Linked DNA regions of Homo sapiens: all the other regions are linked to region 3. Evidence: promoter capture Hi-C in 16 types of primary human blood cells and fetal thymus (Javierre and others, 2016). All regions are on one chromosome and are shown on one strand. Each heading gives the region's core, a stretch centred on a gene start or on the middle of the fragment in contact. The rest is flanking DNA. Distances are from core to core; before and after follow the strand shown.

Region 1 (2,844 bases), core at 30-2,529, 2.5 Mb before region 3:
AAATGCAATTTTGTTTATGTGGACATTTTCTCACTAGGAAATTGTCTTGAAAATACCAATTTGTTTCACAGAAAATATCAGCCAGGGGTTAATCACCATCATTTGGCACCGGCAGCATATGCATTTAGATGTGAACAAAGGACTACATTGTTAGATGAGTTGTAAAGGTTTTGCTAATCTTGAAAACTTCTTTTTAAATTTAATTAGCTGGCTGGAAACGGTGGCTCACGCCTGTAATCCTAGCACTTTGGGAGGCCGAGGCGAGTGTATCACCTGAGGTCAGGAGTTCAAACCAGCCTGGTCAACATGGTGAAACCTCGTCTCTACTAAAAATACAAAAATTAGCTGGGCATGGTGGTGTGCGCCTGTAATTCCAGTTACTCAGGAAGCTGAGGCAGTAGAATCACTTGAACCCAGGGGGCGGAGGTTGCAGTGAGCCGAGAATGTGCCACTGCACTCCAGCCTGGGTGACAGAGCAAGACTGTGTCTCAAAAAAATAAATGAATAAATAAAATAAAATAATACAAATAGATAAATAAAATTAATTAGCTGAAGAAAGTATCAGTGAAATGTGAGGGCATGAATAGACATGGCATTATATGCTTTGGTTCAATTATTATCTGAGCCAGATTTAATGATAGATATTTATAAATTTAAAGATTCTAGATGTCATTGAATTCTTTATAAAATGTAGGAGTTAAATACTGTGAGATAGGAGAATCATGAGCCTTCAGATTCAGCAGATGTATAAAATTCTACTTTTTAACTAGTATATGGGTTAGACCTCTTGGTATTTTTGATACTTAAAAAAACTCCCAGCTAATTTATTCAGAATAGCCCATAAATGAGACATTCCCATTTAGCCGCAATGAAAACTGGGGGCCATCACTTATCAGCCAGTACAATTTTTGTAGAAATAGAAGGTGGAATTAAAATTCTTATTCTTTTTGGATATAAAGTATACTCATTGCCTTAAGACCATTAAGTGACTTTAATCTTTGTCAACAAATTATGTCTTCGGTGTACACAAGAATCATATTGCCATAAACTTCTTCTTTTTTTCTGCATTCTCTATTTTAAATTCTTTTGAAAAATAGATGTTATTTTCCATATGGTCTGCTTCAGTGCTTACTTCATGCCTTCGACTATGTTTCTGAGGACTTACGTAGTTTTCCCTGAGCTTCGCTCTACTTTTCCAGGGTTGGAAGGAATACCTGCATTTCTGTGATCAGTGCTTGGTCCCACCCTACTCCCTTGCCTTGCCTGCCTGCCATGCACAGAGTGATCACTCATGTTTTATCAGATGTTTTCATTAAGACATAGAGCATATAACAAGGCTCTTATCCTCATAGAACAAATAATGTAGTTGGAAATGTAAGATAAAACCTATATGAAAACAAGAATATTCTAGGGCTCCATATGCTGCTTGGCAAGTGAACAGAGTAGGAGAAGTGTAGGCTTCCTCCAAAAGACTGGTCAGGGGAAGGTTTGGGTTCAGCATTGAGGGAATAGTAAGATTCTTTTTTTTTTTTTTGAGACAGAGTCTTGCTCTGTCGCCCAGGCTGGAGTGCAGTGTCGAGATCTCAGCTCACTGCAACCTCCGCCTCCCGGGTTCAAGCAGTTCTCTGCCTCAGCCTCCCGAGTAGCTAGGATTACAGGCACCCACCACCACACCTGGCTAATTTTTGTATTTTTAGTAGAGATGGGGTTTCACCATCTTGGCCAGTCTGGTCTTGAACTCCTGACCTCGTGATCCATCGGCCTCGGCCTCCCAGAGTGCTGGGATTACAGGTGTGAGCCACCGCGCTCGGCCCAATAATAAGATTCTTAAGTAGAGACCTCAGAAAACTATGTTTCTTGCTTTTTTTTAAATACAAGGAAATGTTTGCTTATACAGCTAAACCATTTTCTTTAAATGCTGTTTAATTATCCCTATATTAACTAAGCAAGCAATGACCTCAGTTCTGAATTACTGTATTATCTTTCCTCTATATCCGTCCAGAGCTCTAGCCAATGGGCCAGCAGGGAACATGAGGAAGTGTCACACCCTCTTGGGGTGGGGACATACAGGGCTGGGAAGAGAGGGGGAGATTTCCTGTCCAGAGTGTCCTGGGCTGGGAGGTGGAAGGCCTGAGGGAACTGTCCCTCTCCACCACTAACGTGTCCTAGCACCAGTCAGGGCCTCTGTCCCCATCTGTGTGGCCACAGCTGGTCACCCTCCTCCCAATCTCACATGCCATGAGTCTTTGAAAATGGCTGAGTTTGCAGCCTGTCCTGCTTTTATTGCCATGTCTTTTGTGGAAAGAGGAAAAGGAAGTCTCAGCCTCTGCTGTTAATGAGCTGTTATACGAGCCAGCAGGCTGCAGCAGAGTAGTGGGCCTTTCCTCTTCTGTGCCTCCAGCTGCTCACGCACACCTATCCTCTTCCATCTCCCAGCCAGACTCGGTGCTGAGGTAGAAGCCTGTGTCCCAGGTGCTCATCATCTCTGCTGAACACATTCATTATCTGCAATCAAGCTGCATTCCAGCTTCTTGCCAAACCCTTGTCTGTCAGTAGAAGCTGCATTGGGGATATACAGTCTGAATTTGGCTCATTAGGCCAAAGGCAAGCAGCAGAACTTGGAAAAGGCCGGGGAGGGCTGTTGCGTGGTTCTCAGCAACTTGTGCACACTCTGGTGTGAGAGTTACCAAACCCCAGAATTACAAGCTCACCAACCCCTTACTTTACAAGACTTTTTGTTCTGCATTCCCATTGCAGGCCAGCATCCTTGATGCTTTGAAGAATTTAGGAACTTTGCCATTGGCAGGATTTATGAAAGCTACCCCCACCTCCTGCCTCCAAATA
Region 2 (2,700 bases), core at 201-2,700, 2.2 Mb before region 3:
CAAAAAAAAAAATTACATTATGCCCTTGAGTCTAGATGGATATTAGATGCCCGATCATATAGATATTTTTAAGTGCAACATTTACATGATAACAGTACATTTTGTTTTCTTCATAGATTTAGACACATCAATTTGTAATTTAGGGTACTTACAAGGCACATATAAAATAATTTCCCATGCTGGAAATTCCAAATGACCAGTTCCAGTTGGAACCAATTTATAAACCAATTCCTGTTGGAATTTGGGTGAATTGACTAGAAAGTCTACTTGAGCATGTTGTAATCAACTGAAAAATCTGGGGGGAAAAAAAAAAAACTAATAAGAAAATCGAAATACCAATAGAAGCCAAATCCAGCTTTGGTATTTATTTGCTGGAAGCTAAATTTACACTTAAAGTTGGAGTGTATAAACATTTTAATATATGTTAATGTTGCCAGAATGACTTTTCAGACTTACCAAATGTATTGATAGTGCCAAAAAAAAAATCTCAGAAATCTTAATGCAGAAATTATATAGTCTCCTCAGATTTTAATATTTTTATTTCTTTCCTGGCACAGCTGTTGTATTCAAAGTGTTTTGCTTTTTGTTTGGTCAGTACTGTTAGCTCATTTGAAGTTGGCAAAAACAAATACAAACAAGCAAAAAACCTCAAATTTTTTTCAGCAGTGAGAGAGAATAGTAAAGAGAGGCCCAAGCATAGCTGGTTATGTGAAATATAAAATGGGGTGTTGTTCTCCCTTTAATCAATCTGAGCACAACTACATACATCCAGGAATCTGAAGTCAGATAGTAAGGATGTGGTACCAATCCTCCCGAGTGCAATGCTAAACACTTCCAGGTGGGAATTCATCTATTTCACTTAACACAAACGCAGGGTCTGTATTTCCTGCCAACAAGATTGAGTATCTTTCCATTGCTTCTCTCAGTCTCTGTCTTTGAATATCTGAATGTTCTGGCCCTTCAACAAATTCTTTAAATCATGCTAAGGAATTTCGTTTTATGTGGACACACTCAACTTTGATATTCAGGAGATGTTTTTACAAAATGACTAATTGAAAAAAGTTGAAACAAATGATTTTAAAAGCTTGCAGTAAAAAATAAACTCATAGATTCAGCAAATATTTGTTGACTAAAATTATAGCATTTTTAATGCAGAAAATTATAAAGAATTTGGAGATTGAGCTGCCTTATTTCTAATGAACACTCCTCTTCATCTTATTAAGTCTTCACAGTTTTTCCAGTGGCTATAATTATGGAATTGGTGACCTATGTTTTATATTATCAAGGAAGCCTTAGATTCACTCTGATCTAAGAAATTATTGAAATTGACCCTTTTTACACAAATGTCTTTAAAAAAAAAAACTTATTTCTAAATGTCCATAGTGCATGCATTTTCTAAAACCCCAATAAGTCCAGCCATAAAAGTTCTTTTCTGCTAGTACATGTCATGAAGCCTATTTTTGAAAATAATGATAATTAATTTTATAGTATCTTCTTTTCTCCCCAAGCCTTTCAGTATTCAGGCACTCAAAGCATGCACCAGTTCAGTAATCTTCTTGACCATGGAAATAAGTTCCACATTACTGATGAGTTATATATATATCTTGAACCCCATTACAACCTCACCACATCCCCCTGCATTTATGTTCAGTGTTTGTACCCCATTATGAACCTGTTTAGCTGATAATGAGGATACCTATAATTCTGTAAGTCATTTCAAATATTTGATACAATTAAAAAATATGGGCTTAGTAAATTTTAAAAGTTAACATGTGATACTGGCTTGTGAGATTCTTCTGTCATCTAGTGAAGCTTATAAAACTTTCAGTTAAGACATTTTAAAAGAGTTATATCCATTAGGCACTTTAATAAACATATAACCTGCCATTACTGAATACTTTGTTAGAACACAGAAGAGCATCTTCCAGCAAACAAAAATATATTTATTACATGTACAGCACATACTTGCATGAGAAAGAAAACATTAGCCAAAACATTTTTCTATATGCTTTACTGGTTTCTTGTTTATGCGCATTAAAGTATTTAATTGCAAAGAGTGCACCAAGGTGTACAAATTTAGACTAGACAGCTGTTCAGCTTTTTCTGTAGTAGCATTAGCAGTTTGGTCATTTAACTACTTTAAGATACTTACATTTTATGGCAGGTAGCTGTAACAGCATTTAAATATATTTCCTAGTCATCAAGATTACCATCTTCTTTCAACTTTTTAAAAGTCACTTGTTTTTAAAGGTTTTTCAAAGCCTTGTTTTTAGTCTTCCATGTCATGCCGATAAAGAGAGTCTCATTCAATATCTGTGCACAAAACCAATCTATCAATTACCATCAGATGTCCATACCTGTTTTGCTTTGCATTCTTATTCAAAAGCTGACAATCTTGGAAAGGGTATAATGTATATTTTATTGATGGATATATTTAAATGTTTACTTTAATTTGGAATATTCTTTCCCCTTCTTTCTGTAATAAGTTTATCTTCCTCAAATAAGGGGATATACATCTTATTTTTTTTAAAGACTTAAGAGTTTATTGTGTAAATGATACTTAAAATCTAGATATATACTAAATGAAAAGTTTTATTTTTGCCAAGCACACCAAGCACCTTTGAAAAATACATACTCCATACTTTGTTTTTAATTAATTTCATTTAAAGATAGCAAATGATTATAAGCAAGAGAAACAAG
Region 3 (2,700 bases), core at 176-2,675:
GAGAGTGTCTAGAAGCAACAACATCCCAAATGTCCAAATCTTGATTTCTAATATCATTTTCCATTAAAAGTACCCTTGGCTTTTTGGGGAAGCAGCTGATTCTAGGATTGGGGCAGGGAATATACAAGATGAGCCTGGAGCAACTTATAGAAATTAAGAAAATGCTCAAGAAAAAAAATCAATAAACATAAAACGAGGAGGGTTTGTCAAAAAGACACAAATGCCAACTAAAGGAAATCTCAATAGCCAAAGCTGGAACCAATATGAACAACAAAATAAAGTAGTATTGGATTATAACCCAAAATGTAAAATAAATATCCATGAGTCCATACTGACATAAATGATTGAATACATAAATAAATGCAGTACAGACAAATCTCCCATGCAGAAGAATTCCAAATAATTCATGAAGATATTCTGTCCTCATAAAGGTGGAGTATAACAATTTCCCATTCCTATAGTTTGGGCTGCACAGAGAGATGTCCTTCCAAATAGTATAGTATGGAGAGGAAAAGAAAAACAGTAACTTCACAGTGGAGAAACCTGACAAACCCTACATAGGGAGGTGGAAGGGCTTACTAGATGAAACAAAGGGGATCTTTGTAGAACTATAAAACTTTTCTGTATGACACTGTAATAATGGTGATAAAGGTTAGCATCAACAGTAATAAGTCATGTTGATAGTATATACCCTTGATGTGATGTGATGAGAAGATCACTTTACCTTACCTCTTAACTCAAGAAAAACCCATAACCTCAGTTAATGCATGAGAAAAATACAGGCAAAACCCAATTGAAGGACATTTGACCAAATGACCAATAAGTCGCTTCAAAACTATTAAGGTTATCAAAAACAAGGAAAGTTTGAGAAACGGTCACGGTCCAGAGGAGCCTGGAAGACATGGTGATGTACTCCGGACAGGATCCTGGAATGGAAAAGAATACCAGGTCGAAAACTAAGGACATCTGGAATAAAATATGGGCTTATGGGCTTTAATCAATTTTTAAAAAAGTATTAGATACATGAAAATGATACACGATTTACAAATCAATCGCCTAATATTTATCGAGCATATTGAGAGCCTGGCACTGTGGTAGGGCTGGGGACACAGAAAGAGGTAAGTGCCCTATGCTCAAAAACAGCGATTCATGAAAAATAAACAACTATGACAAAAAGAACAGAAGACTGTATCTCCTGGAGGCAGTAAGGAAGGCTTAAGTTGGGAGGACTATCAAACGCATCAAGGAGTTACTGAAGATTAACTGACCCGCCTAACGCAGGTCGGAAGCCCTCCTATCCATCCACCCAAATCACCCCTGCCCCACCTTTTCTCCTCCCTTGCGTTTACCCAATGGCAGGTCGGCTCCACGTAGGCCTACTTTGCGCGTGCGCATCATCGTTTCGACGCGCTCGGAAGCAACTTCCTTTGCCTGCTCACCGCCAGCGTAGGTGCTACCACCGCTGCCGTCGCCGCCGCCATTTTGATGGCAGGAAGAGTCCGGTTCTGGGACAGCTGGAGACAGTGGTGGTGACTGGTACGGATGGTTTCCGCCCATGTTAGCCCCTCCAAATTTGCCCGTGTTAGGGTTACAGCCCTCGGTATTGCCCGTATTTTCACTGGGTCCCTGTCGTTGTCCCCAGCCATCCTGTCCGTCTGTCTTTAGTCTCTTTTCTGCTTCCTCATCTTTCCGATCAGCCTGAAGCTTTGCTTGGAGCTGTTGTTACGCAGCCCCAACTTCTGTTAAAGCAGCCGCTTCGATCCTCTGGACTGAATTTTGGCCACCCAGCCCCCATTCCCCTCCCGGATCTGGTCCGAGTTGTTTTTCCGCGGCTGTAAACCGGAAGGGCTCTGAGCTGCACTGCCGGCTCCGGGCTGGGGGATCTGTGCCTGGCATGGGGGCGAGTTCTGGCCTCCTTAGGGTACGGGGAGAGCTTGGACTTTGGTCCTGACGTGGTGGACGACACACCTTCGAAGAGTGGACGTTACCTCAGTTGTCTGTTGTTAGAGTTTAATCGATCACTCGTCTGTTTTGTTGTGTTCTTTCCCAGAAATAACTTTACCAAAGGAAAGCTATTTTGCGAACTATCTTCTCCAGCGGAGATGGCCAATGTGAGTAAATTATCTCTTAAGAATCAGCATAGTAAACTCGTTTGGGAATGTTAGGAATGAAAGAACGGGTTTAATTATGATGGCATTGGGTGGTATAGTGTTAGATATAATGTATCAAAAATGTCAAGGGAAGCAAGTGGTGTGAAATTATGTTATGCTTTGAAGATGGTAGCATTCTTTGCACTGCAAATACACTTATTTATACAATTTCATTTGTACAGATGTGGAAATTCAAGCACCCTTTCGGTATTTTTTAAATACAGCGTTTCAGTAAATATTAGAATCTATGTTTAGGCCCTTTTTTAGCTTTTGGGTTAGCTAAACTGAAGGGTTTTTTTAATCTTTTTTTCTTTTTTTTAAAACAGTTTCCATATTGGAAGTGACCTTCTAAATCCTACAAAATAAGAATAGGAGATACTCTCACACACCAGAGATATTTATTGACTGTAACTTTGCAGTGATTAGACACATCCTATCTATAGAATTCATATGTAGCGGTCATAAGACATATATAAAAACAGCTACAATTAAAGTATAAAGTAATAATTTTTTTTAGAACCTACACGAAGGTGCAATGCAGATTCAAGTC
Region 4 (2,700 bases), core at 122-2,621, 2.4 Mb before region 3:
TAAAAATAGAGATCTGTGACATGCTGGTATCTCTTTGAAAGGAATATTGCACTTCTTGTCCAACTTAAAACCAGGGAATTTTAGAAAAATTGTAGCAATAGGGATTATTCTTGATTACTGCTGATGTTTTTATATTGTGTTTGACTAAATTAGTTGCTTTTTGCAAAGCACTCTGAAGCACTTCGCTTTTATATCATTGGAGACATGGATTGTGTCCTTTGTGAAATAGTTATTGGTTTCACATTCCCTCCACCACTTCTCCTTGATGGCTACGGGCTGAGTATGATTCATCTCTGTCCTTCACTCATGGTATAATGAATGGTGAACAGTAAACAAACAGGGCTTATTTGTAGGAGTGAAATTAAGGGTAGCAGTTTGAGTGGTGTATATTTGGTTGAAGATGATGCAGAGGTGGTTGAAGGGGAGAGATGCAAGTAATAGGCAATAAGCCGATTGCCAAAGAGAGGAGGAGAGAGGTTCTTTGTTTCCCCAAGGCTTACTTGATGAGCTCATGTGCAGTCACTACAACTGTGAAGGAACTTATCTGTAAATGTGCTTTTTAATACAACTTTGGATGCTGGATCAAAATGACATGTTTAAAGATTAGACGCTTATACTTCTTGAATGTATATAGCCTTGACTTTAAATACCTATTCTAGTAGAGAAAATCTTTTCAAGAAGAAGATAAAACGTAAAAAGCCAATGTTCAGCAAGATAAAAGAATAAGCTGTATCCTTTCTTAAGAGTTAGATGTGAGAGTTGAATTAAGAAAGAAAAAAAGAAACATCAAATTACTTTTAGCTTTTCAGTTTTCTTCCTTTCATGTTTAAGATTCAGTGTCTAGTTCCTTGTGAGTTGTCTCCAATTCTGTGAAGTCTAAATCTAATGGTATTTTTATCCTTGATAAAGCATCATTGATTTACATACGTATGAGAAGGGGAAAAAGAGACATTGTTTTATTATTTAGAATGAATGTCAAATATTTATGCAAGTTTTGACAGTATTTTCAAAAGCAAAATATTTTCATATGAAGAGATTTTTCACCATGTTTTCACCAATAGTCTACTGAAATTTTGAGGCAAATCAAATGTTAAGAGATTATGGGTTGATGCAATGAATATGCCTGTTTTTATTGAGTCAAACTTTGGCTGCCAGAAGGGTAACATTACTCCTTATTTGAAGTTTTAACCCTTTGAGTATCTGACCTATAATTTTTTTAAATTTGAAATCATTCTAAAATGGATTATGTGTTTTTCTGCTTGCTTAAATATAAGGTAGAGAATATAGTTTGAAAAAAAATTGTTTTAATGTTTCAGAGTTATGTATTTATTTATTTTGAGATGGAGTCTTGCTGTGTCACCAGGCTGGAGCGCAGTGATGCAATCTCTGCTCACTGCAACCTCCGCCTCCCGGGTTCAAGCGATTCCCCTGCCTCGGCCTCCAGAATAGCTGGGACTACAGGCGCTCGCCACCACACCTGGTGTGGTGTATTTTAGTAGAAACGGGGTTTCACCACGTTGGCCAGGATGGTCTCAATCTCCTGACCTCGTGATCCACCCGCCTCAGCCTCCCAAAGTGCTGGGATTACAGGTGTGAACCACCGCACCCAGCTAGAGTTATTTTTTTCTTCAGTCTCTGTGCTAGTAGTTTCCGAGTTATTTTAAGCGTTGATTTTGGGGATAAGCCTTGAATGCAGGTGGAGGATATTAAATATTTACATTTATGTAAAGCACAATTTAGGTGCCCGAGGTTAGGTTTTTGCCTGCTTCCAGCAGTGTTTCAGACAAGGGAATGCCTTGTGCTTTCCTTTCCCCGGCTTCCTCCTCTGGGTGTGCTCTCAATTCTAACCCCGTTACCAGCATCGCCACCTGTTAATTATCACTGTTGGTTATGCTCTTCAACTTCAGTCTTTCCCTGTCCTCTGAGAACTTCTCCTTTGGCTTCATGGCACCAAAGTACATCCCATTCTGAAATCAAAAGAATAGTAAACACAAAAACCTACTAACTCCCCACAATTTCCTTCTCAAACTACTGCTGGATCTTTCTTTTCTTTCTTTATCATCAGACATCACAAAAGAGAAATCTTCTACCCATTTCCTTTATTTCCTCACGTCCAATTCACTTCTCAGACAGGAGCACCTGGCTTCTTGCCCCCTCACCCTATACTGAAATGCTCTCTGAAGCATCATCACAACTTCATTGCCAAATTGGAAGCCTTTAGAGAATGGCACTTATCCAGTTCTCACCCAGGAGCCATTAATGGGAGAAATCCTGGAAGAATAGGGGAAGAATGCCACCCACCATCTTGATCCCATCAAAACCCAAATGGACATAGAAATGCCTGATAGCCTCTTTCAATTAAACTGTCATGGCCCCAGCATCTCAAATCGATGCTGTTGGGTACTTCTTAGTCTGCAAAGGCTCTCCTTTCCCTAAAGGGTAGAGCCCACAATAAACAGGACTGGACCAGGATCTCTAGGTTCCAGAGACATTGATTTGGGAATGTACACATAGGCTGCAGGGTGAAAATCCTGGAAGTGGAGGCATAGAAACACAGTGGTTTTTCCTTGAGTTTTTAAGAGCTTCATCTGCTTCTGGGCCTTCTTTGCCCTCTCACTCTCATTCTGACTGCCTCTCAATCTAAAGATTCCTCTTCCTCTTTTGGCAACCATAGGTACAGCTGACTTGCCCATATACCCA
Region 5 (2,700 bases), core at 179-2,678, 2.2 Mb before region 3:
ATAATAGGAGGTGCCTATAGATCATTAGGAATTTCCTCTGGTAAGTGGCAATTATATGGAAAACATCTACCATTTGAATTATAAAGATCTTACTCTGAGGTGTTATAATCCTCAACATTTATTACTTATAGAATGAATATTAATTCAACATTTATTGAGTACCTACTTTATGCCAGGAATAGTTGTAGTCACTAGAAATGTAAAGATGATTAATATGTATTCTATACAGTTGAAGATGCCTCATTAAGCGGAGATTAGTGCACATGTAAATAATTAGGATAAGTGCTAGAGTAGAGGTAGTGTGGGAAAGCAGGAGAAAGTGATTCTACATGGAAAGCTAGACTTTAAAGGATTGGTCTAATTCCCTAAATGGAGAATTAGGATAATTCCGACATTTAGTGATACCATGAGTAGCTGTAGAGAAATGTTTGCTGTGAACATATGTGCAGCTTGTGTAGGGAGAGTGACTTGAACTTTAGTTTATAGATGCCCTTCAACTTGTGATGTAGTTATGTGCCAATAAACTTGTTGTAAGTTGAAAGTAACTTAAGTCAAAACACATTTATTACACCTAACCTGCTGAACATCATAGCTTAGCCTAGCCTACCTTAAATGTGCTCAATACACAGACATTAGCCTCCAGTAGGGCAAAACCATTTGATAGCACAGTGTATACTATTATGCAGTATTGGTTGTTTACCCTCGTTATTGAATGGCCGACTGGGAGCTGCAGCTTATTGCTACTGCCCAGTGTCTTGAGAGTGTTGTACTAGATATCACTAGCCTTGGAAAAGATCAAAATTCAAACTTTGAAGTACAGTTTCTAGTAAATTTTTATCTTTTTCTGGGCTAGCAAAACAGGTTAAGAACTCTCTCCTCTTCAGTGCTAGGCACTGCTGTGTGCTATTTTAATTGTTAAACAACCCTGAGTGATAGGTGGTATTTCCCCTATCTTACAATGAAGAAACTTAAGGTCAGAGAAATAATAAAAGTCATTTGCTCAAGGTCATATAATGCCATTAATATCTCCTTCAGTTATCTGTTTCTGTGTAATAAGCTATTCTTTAATTTTATGACTTAAAGCAATGATTTATTATTTTTCATGTTTCTTACGCGTCGACTAAGCTCAGCTAGGAAGTTCTACCTTGGGGAGTCTCCTTTGGTTGCAGTCAGATAGCAGCTAAAATTAAAGTACTCTGTAGGTTCAACCAGGCTGCACGTCCAAGATGGCTTCTTTATTTGTCTGTCTATCATCTCAGCTAGAATGGCTGGAAGAGATAGGGGCTGACTGGTCATCCCTTTCAACAGGGTCTCACCACATGATCAACTTGGGCTTACTCATTAAATTGCACAGCAGTCTTGGGCTTGCTGTATAGTATCTGACTTACCCTAGGAGGACTTGTCCAAGACAGCCAGGCAGCAACTGCAATGTTTCTGATGATTTAGGCTCAGAAATCACGTCTGGTCATTTCTGCTGCATCTGTGGGTTAAAAGTAAGTCACAGGGCCACCCCAGATTCAAGAGGAGGCGGCTACGTAAGGGCATGACTATCCAGAGGCCATCTTGGACACTAGCTTCTACCACATGCTGTGCTGTCTTTGGGAATTGCTTTCGGACAGGCTGGAAATAGATGGGTCTTACAAATGCCTGGCTGAAATGTGAAGAGGGTGCAAGAAAACATCTGGGGAACGTGAATGTCTGAGAGAAGACTCAAGGAAGAGGAGTCATTGAAAAAAAATAAATGACTAGAGACAGGAAGAAAACTTGGAGAAAGTGGTGCCACAGAAGCCAAATGGGGGGAGGGAGTCGCTGCCACCATAGCCATAGGTTCTTAGATTTGTTTTTCATGTTACAGTGGCCCTGTGGTTTTAAGGTACTCATAATTTACGATTACCCATTTAAAAAACTGACCTTTTTCCTTCCCATTCACTCCACTCCACACACATGCACCCAGTTGATGCCTTAAGTTCCAGTTAGAACCTCATTGATGTAATCCAATGTGAAACATTTATACTTTAAGTCATTTGTAAATTGTGATTATGTTTGGTCTACTTTACTGAGAGTAGGCTTGCCTAGGAATAGAGGAAATGTAGTGCCATGGCTTCCTAGAGAGGTGGTTGGAAAGATGAGAGTTGTCTCTAGAATAATGGCGATGGGGAAGGTGAGTATAATGGCACACTTCTGCTGGTCTTGCTAGGATGTTCTTTTGACTTCTGAGAAAGTATAAAGTGCCATGCACTGAATTATGCCATAGATAGAAGGGTGAGATACAGAGTATATTTTTTCCTATAATTAATCTTTTTTTTTCCTTTTTTGAAAAAAAATCACTGGTGTTTTCTCTATTTCAGAGCACAAAGTTATCATTGTTGGGCTGGATAATGCAGGGAAAACTACCATTCTTTACCAATTGTAAGTATTAACTATTTTAAAAATTATTTTATTTCTAGTTACTTTTTTGGCCTGGGTGATAGTCGATCAATGAATGCAGTAAGAAATTACATGAAACCTAAGTTACCCTGTAAGAAAGCAGGTTGGCTATAAACCTGGAGCCAGATCTCAGCAATAGTTAGTAGAAAGCAAGAAATTTATATGATATTGAGCATATAGTTGGCATTGAGTTGTCCACTTGTTTTGTGCTAAAGCTCTTTTGTTTGTAGAAAGTAGAAAAATATGGCCGGGTGCGGTGCCTCATGCCTTTAT
Region 6 (2,700 bases), core at 43-2,542, 2.2 Mb before region 3:
ACTCTTTCTCTATTGCAATTCCCCTGCCTTGATAAATTGGCTCTATCTGGGAAGCCGGCAAGAACCCACAGGGTGTTTACATTACTATCTGTCTTCATGAAGGCAAAGGCTTTGATTTTCTTCATAAGCCCCATCATGCAGCTAGCACTTGGCTTAGTGACTAAACCCTCATAGGCACTCAACAGACATTTGAATAAACATGTCCTGGGCAGTGCTGTCCAATAGAAGTAAGATGTGTGCCACATATGTAATTTTAAATTGTTGAGTAGTTACATTCAAACGTAATAAGAAACAATAAAGTTAATTTTACTAATACATTTTAATTACCCAATATATCTAACATGTTACCACTGCAACATGTAATCAGTATAAAAATTATTGAGATATTTTACTTTTTTTGTGTTAAGTCTTCAAAATCCATCGTGTATTTTACATTCAGAGCACATCTCAATTTGTATTAGGTGCCTTGCAAGTGCTCCATAGCCTAAAGTAGCTAATGACTCCTGTACTGGACAGGGCAGGTCTGGAGCCTCCTAGTGTTCAATATATGCCAGTTGATAGATAATAGCACAATGCAAAGAATTGGAGAAAGAAAGTTTTATTCTGAAAGCTGCCGTACCCACTGGTTGATACGGTGACTATGAGACTTCATTCACCTGTTAACATCTGGAACAGCAGAAAGACCTAAAGTGCCCATGATGAATGAGTAAGGACACTGGACCAGGAGTGAGGTGAATATGCAAAAGCCTGTGTCTCCCAGAGCCCCAAAGAGACAGGAGAGCAGAGGACACCCAAAGAGCAACAGGCTTGTTGCACCAGTGGGAAGACACAGCAGGCAGCAGGCTTTGCTGAGGAGTCTGCCAACAGAGCATCTCAAAGTGCAAACCAGGCTGGGCACAGTGGCTCACTCTTGTAATCCCAGCACTTTGGGAGGCTGAGGTGGAAGGAGCACTTGAGCTCAGGAGTTCAAGACCAGCCCGGGCAACAAAGTGAAAAATCTTGTTGCTACAAAAAAATTTTAAAATTAGCCAGGTATGGTGGTATGTGTCTGTAGTCCCAGCTACTTGGGAGGCTGAGGTGGGAGGATCACTTGAGCCCAGGAGGTCAAGGCTACACTGAGCCATGATTGTGTCACTGCACTCCAGTCTGGCTGACAGAGCAAGACCCAGACACCAAAACATACCAAGGACTAAACTCTGACCATTTTTCTCTCTTGTCTAAATCCCTACCTAAGGGGTCAGAGAAGTCACACAGTACAAACAGAAAGTCTCAGAAGATGGATTTTATTTAACCCTATGTAACATGGATTACTTTCCAACTTGACTCTCATAACATCACATGACAGATGAAGAGGGAAACCAAAATGTTTTACCCCAAAAATATGTTTCATCACCATATTTAGAAATAGCTCTGTAAAGCTGTTTTTTTGGGGGGGAAATTTGCCTCTGTAAAGAATCTCCATTAACATAACTAGGTCTTTCCTCTACCAGGTCCTCCCAGTCTTGAAGAGATTAACTGAGAGTCTCGCACCTCTTAAAGGATTGAATAGGAAACATTTGCCATCTATGGTCTGAAAGGCCTGCCACCTATAGACTACTGGAAACTGCCTGCTTCACTGCATAGTAAGAACCTTGGAGCCACAACCCCTTATCTTAACCCAGACACTCCTTTCTATTGATCCCAGGTTTTTAGATAATAACTTAACTCTCAGCCAATCAGAAAATCTTTGAATCCACCTGTGACCTGTAAGTCCCCACCCTTCAAATTGTCCTGCCTTTTGGGACTTAACCAATGTATACCTCACATGTATTGATTGATGTCTTTTGTCTCCCTAAGACATATAAAACCAAGCTGCAACCCAACCACCTTGGGCACATGTTCTCAGGACCTCTTGAGACAGTGCTGTGGGCCATGGTCACTCATATTTGGCTCAAAATAAAACTCTTCAAATATTTTACAGACTTTGGCTCTTTTCACTGACAGTACTGTTCTGGGATTTGTCGTGGCAGGGTATGTGTCTTAGTCCATTTTTTACTGCTGTAACATTCTAACACAGACTGGGTAATTTACAAACAATAAAGATTTATTTCTCACAGTTCTGGAGGCTGGGAAGTCCAAGACCAAGGTGCTGGCAGGTTCAGTGTCTGGTGAGGGCCTGGTCCCTTAAGCCCTTTTATGAGGGCCCTAATCCTATCCGTGAGGGCACTGCCCTTATGACTTGATTACTTCCTGAAGGCCTCACCTCTCAACACTATCACATTGGTAATTATGTTTCAACATATGAATTTGGGGGGACATATTCAGACGCTAGCAATATGTAATGTAATTTTTTTCTTCCGATAATACTTTCTTTGGCTAATTTGTGGCTAGCATGCTTTCCATTGGGATGTTGGTACTAGCCAACTGGGCTGTCTACTGAAATGAGTTTGTCCCAGGTTTCTGGGTAGGAAACTGTCTCCTTAAAAGTGACTTTTAGGGGCCAGGCATCATGGCTCATGCTTGTAATCCCAGCAATTTGGGAGGCCAGGAGTTCAAGACCAGCCTGGTCAACGTAGCAAGACCCCATCTCTGCAAAAAATAAAAAATAAGTAAATTACCCTGGCGTGGTGGTACATGCCTCTGTCCCAGCTACTCAGGAAGCTAAGGTGGGAGGATCACTGGCCTGGGAGGTCATGGCTGCAGTGAGCTGTGATCATGCCA
Region 7 (2,700 bases), core at 191-2,690, 2.6 Mb before region 3:
ATATACTAGATTTGGTAGTGTTAGAACTCTTTAAACATTTTATCTAGATTCATTTTTTTGTTTTGTTTAATAAGATTTCTTTGATGTGTTCTGAGGGGAAAAAAGAAAATATCCTTAGGTCCCACCTCTTCTCCCCAGCTGGGCCTCAAGTGTTAGAGGGGTACAGGGATCTTGAGGTAGAGCCTGGTTGGAGTAGCCATTCTTGTAGAATTCCAAGGGGAAAGTGAAACATGGGGGACGGGGCCACAGTGGTTAGTGTTAACAGAGAAGATGTCATTTCCTTATTCATTGATTTCCAAGTCATGACTTGTCTGTTCTAAGCCTTAACTCCGGTTCTTGTTTGCATATCTTTTTTCCCTTTACTCAAGCCAGGCAATCTTTCTTGCCAGTTTTCTGCCTCTGTGCTATTTACCATTCATTGCTAAATGTTTGCTCTTTTCAACCTTGGTATTTCCTTTAAAGATACGCTTGTGTCCCACAAAGCTGAGCTCAAATTCTACCTCTACAAAACTCTGTGGACGCAGTGGTTTGAATTGTTAGCTTTTAAGAGAATACATTTCCAAGTGACATTTTAATGTGTGTATTGCTGTGTTTCTGACTTTTGCTGTGTTAGAAGAAGTTGACCAGGAAGTAGCTTGGGACTTTCTCCAGTGAAATGCAGTCATGCAGTCCTTTTCTCCAGTGAAATTTTATAAGAAATCCCAATATAAAAATAGATATTGATAGCATAAGAATAATATAAATTCATAACATACACACAAATTTATAACATTTACTTAACTAGGCCACTCTTTGTACAATAAGTTAAAATCTTTGTAAAAGTAAAAATTTTTTTAAAAAGTTTTTTGGTTTTGAATAAGAATAGTAGACTTAACAGCCAGTTTTTTTTCTAATATATTTTGTAGCTTTTTAAACTATGAAATATTTTCAGCATAAAATAGAAAATATGAACTCCCATTCCTGCCAGGCAATTATGTCAAGTGCTAATATTTTGATATACTTGATTCTTTTTTTTTAAGAAAGGAACATTCAAGATGCAGTGAAATACTTTAGTATTTTTAGCAGCTACCTGATCCCATTCTTCCTCCTTTCTCCGAGTTAAACACTCTATAAATAGATAGAAATTCTCTTTAATAGTATAATACTACACTTACAAATATACTATATATTGTTTGGATGTTTTTAAACTTCTTAAAAATGGTGTCTTTTTGTCATTCTGCAACTTTTGTCATCCAGCATTTCTTCTTTTTTGAGACGGAGTCTTGCTCTGTCGCCCAGGCTGGAGTGCAGTGGTGTAATCTCAGCTCACTGCAACCTCTGCTTCCCAGGTTCAAGCAATTCTTGTGCCTCAGCCTCCCGAGTAGCTGGGGTTACAGGTGCGCACCACCATGCTCGGCTAATTTTGCATTTTTTAGCAGAGATGGGATTTCGCCATGTTGGCCATGCCAGTTTCGAACTCCTGACCTTAGGTGATCTGCCTGCCTTGGCCTCCCAAAGTGCTGGGATTACAGGCGTGAGCCACCGTGCCTGGCCCATTCAGCATTTCTTCGTGAGAGTTATTCATGTTGATGTTTGTAGCTCTAGGTTATAAATTTTAATGGCTGCGTGATACTATACTACTATATGAATATGCATTATCTGTTGTCCTATTGACGAACATGACTTTGTTTTCAATTTCTTGCACCTACAGACAGCTCTGTATTGAAAGTTTTTATCTATGTTTTCTTGTGTTTATGGGTGCAAGATTCTTTTTTTTTTTTTTTTGAGACGGAGTCTTGCCCTGTCACCCAGGCTGGAGTGCAGTGGCGCGATCTCAGCTCGCTGCAACCTCCATCTCCCAGGTTCAAATGATTTTCCTGCCTCAGCCTCCCAAGTAGCTGGGATTACAGACGCCTGCTACCATGCCCAGGTAATTTTTTTTTGTATTTTTAGTAGAGACGGGGTTTCACATGTTGGCCAGGCTGGTCTCGAACTCCTGACCTCGTGATCCGCCCGTCTTGGCCTCCCAAAGTGCTGGGATTACAGATATGAGCCACTGTGCCCAGTGGAGTGCAAAATTCTTAAAGGTTGTCGTCTTGAAGGGGAATTCTTCAGTAGAAGTGTAGCTCTTGGCCTGGTGTGGTGGCTCATGCCTGTAATCCCAGCACTTTGGGAGGCTGAGGTGGACAAATCTTCTGAGGTCAGGAGTTTGAGACCAGCCTGGCCAACATGATGAAACGTGTCTCTACTGAAAATACAAAACTTAGCTGAGTGTGGTGGTGAATGCCTGTCATCTCAGCTACTCGGGAGGCTGAGGTAGAAGAATCACTTGAACCTGGGAGGCGGAGATTGTGCCACTGCACTCCAGCTGGGGCAACAGAGTGAGACTCCATCTCAAAAAAAAAAAAAAAGTGTAGCTCTTGCAAAGTTGCCCTTCCAAGTGTTTGTTGATTTCCCTCCTGTCAGCAGTGAAATTCCTGTTGTTCCACATCCTCACTAATGCTGAGCATTGTCAGATTTTCTAATTTATGCCTATCTGATGAATATGAAGTAAGACATTGTTTTCATTTCATTTTCTATTTCTACTTCATTGCCAGTGAAGATGAGCATTTTTTCATATGTTTCTTCATCATTCTGTTTTCTTTTTCTATAAATTGCCTGCTCATTACTTTTATTATTCTGTTGGGTTACTTTTTAAAAATTGATGGCAGGGTGCAGTGA

The links. The method cuts DNA at HindIII sites, captures the fragments that hold promoters and counts their contacts. A CHiCAGO score of 5 or more calls a contact.
Region 1: a contact is called between a fragment that was not itself captured here and the fragment with the promoter of MMADHC in region 3, in 1 of 17 cell types (total B cells). The highest score is 6.1, in total B cells.
Region 2: a contact is called between a fragment that was not itself captured here and the fragment with the promoter of MMADHC in region 3, in 4 of 17 cell types (naive CD4 T cells, total CD8 T cells, non-activated CD4 T cells and 1 more). The highest score is 7.4, in naive CD4 T cells.
Region 4: a contact is called between a fragment that was not itself captured here and the fragment with the promoter of MMADHC in region 3, in 2 of 17 cell types (naive B cells and total B cells). The highest score is 6.1, in naive B cells.
Region 5: a contact is called between a fragment that was not itself captured here and the fragment with the promoter of MMADHC in region 3, in 1 of 17 cell types (naive CD8 T cells). The highest score is 6.6, in naive CD8 T cells.
Region 6: a fragment that was not itself captured here is called in contact with the fragment with the promoter of MMADHC in region 3 in 1 of 17 cell types (total B cells); the score reaches 5.7 in total B cells.
Region 7: a contact is called between a fragment that was not itself captured here and the fragment with the promoter of MMADHC in region 3, in 5 of 17 cell types (non-activated CD4 T cells, naive B cells, naive CD8 T cells and 2 more). The highest score is 6.7, in non-activated CD4 T cells.

The regions. Positions count from the first base shown.
Region 1 is chr2:152,038,106-152,040,949 of GRCh38, reverse strand. All of the region lies in intron 2 of CACNB4 (calcium voltage-gated channel auxiliary subunit beta 4), which reads left to right. Among named protein-coding and RNA genes, the nearest start is that of CACNB4, 60 kb to the left of the region's middle. The HindIII fragment of the contact is 4,970 bases long and covers 1-2,844 here.
Region 2 is chr2:151,836,280-151,838,979 of GRCh38, reverse strand. CACNB4 (calcium voltage-gated channel auxiliary subunit beta 4) reads left to right here. Exons shown (of 14, transcript NM_000726.5): 14 at 1-2,700. Among named protein-coding and RNA genes, the nearest start is that of ARL5A, 9.2 kb to the right of the region's middle. The HindIII fragment of the contact is 728 bases long and covers 1,087-1,814 here.
Region 3 is chr2:149,586,500-149,589,199 of GRCh38, reverse strand. It overlaps MMADHC (metabolism of cobalamin associated D), which reads left to right and starts at 1,425. Exons shown (of 8, transcript NM_015702.3): 1 at 1,425-1,536; 2 at 2,051-2,111. The coding sequence starts at 2,103. It overlaps MMADHC-DT (MMADHC divergent transcript), which reads right to left and starts at 1,842. Exons shown (of 3, transcript NR_110240.1): 1 at 1,350-1,842. RefSeq lists enhancers at 1,379-1,698, 1,015-2,214. The HindIII fragment of the contact is 5,011 bases long and covers 1-1,706 here.
Region 4 is chr2:152,019,883-152,022,582 of GRCh38, reverse strand. All of the region lies in intron 2 of CACNB4 (calcium voltage-gated channel auxiliary subunit beta 4), which reads left to right. Among named protein-coding and RNA genes, the nearest start is that of CACNB4, 78 kb to the left of the region's middle. The HindIII fragment of the contact is 8,232 bases long and covers 1-2,700 here.
Region 5 is chr2:151,814,848-151,817,547 of GRCh38, reverse strand. ARL5A (ARF like GTPase 5A) reads left to right here. Exons shown (of 6, transcript NM_012097.4): 2 at 2,349-2,409. Among named protein-coding and RNA genes, the nearest start is that of ARL5A, 12 kb to the left of the region's middle. The HindIII fragment of the contact is 9,623 bases long and covers 1-2,700 here.
Region 6 is chr2:151,775,518-151,778,217 of GRCh38, reverse strand. No RefSeq gene overlaps it. Among named protein-coding and RNA genes, the nearest start is that of NEB, 42 kb to the right of the region's middle. The HindIII fragment of the contact is 5,424 bases long and covers 1-2,700 here.
Region 7 is chr2:152,169,547-152,172,246 of GRCh38, reverse strand. All of the region lies in intron 1 of STAM2 (signal transducing adaptor molecule 2), which reads left to right. Among named protein-coding and RNA genes, the nearest start is that of STAM2, 4.9 kb to the left of the region's middle. The HindIII fragment of the contact is 4,391 bases long and covers 1-2,700 here.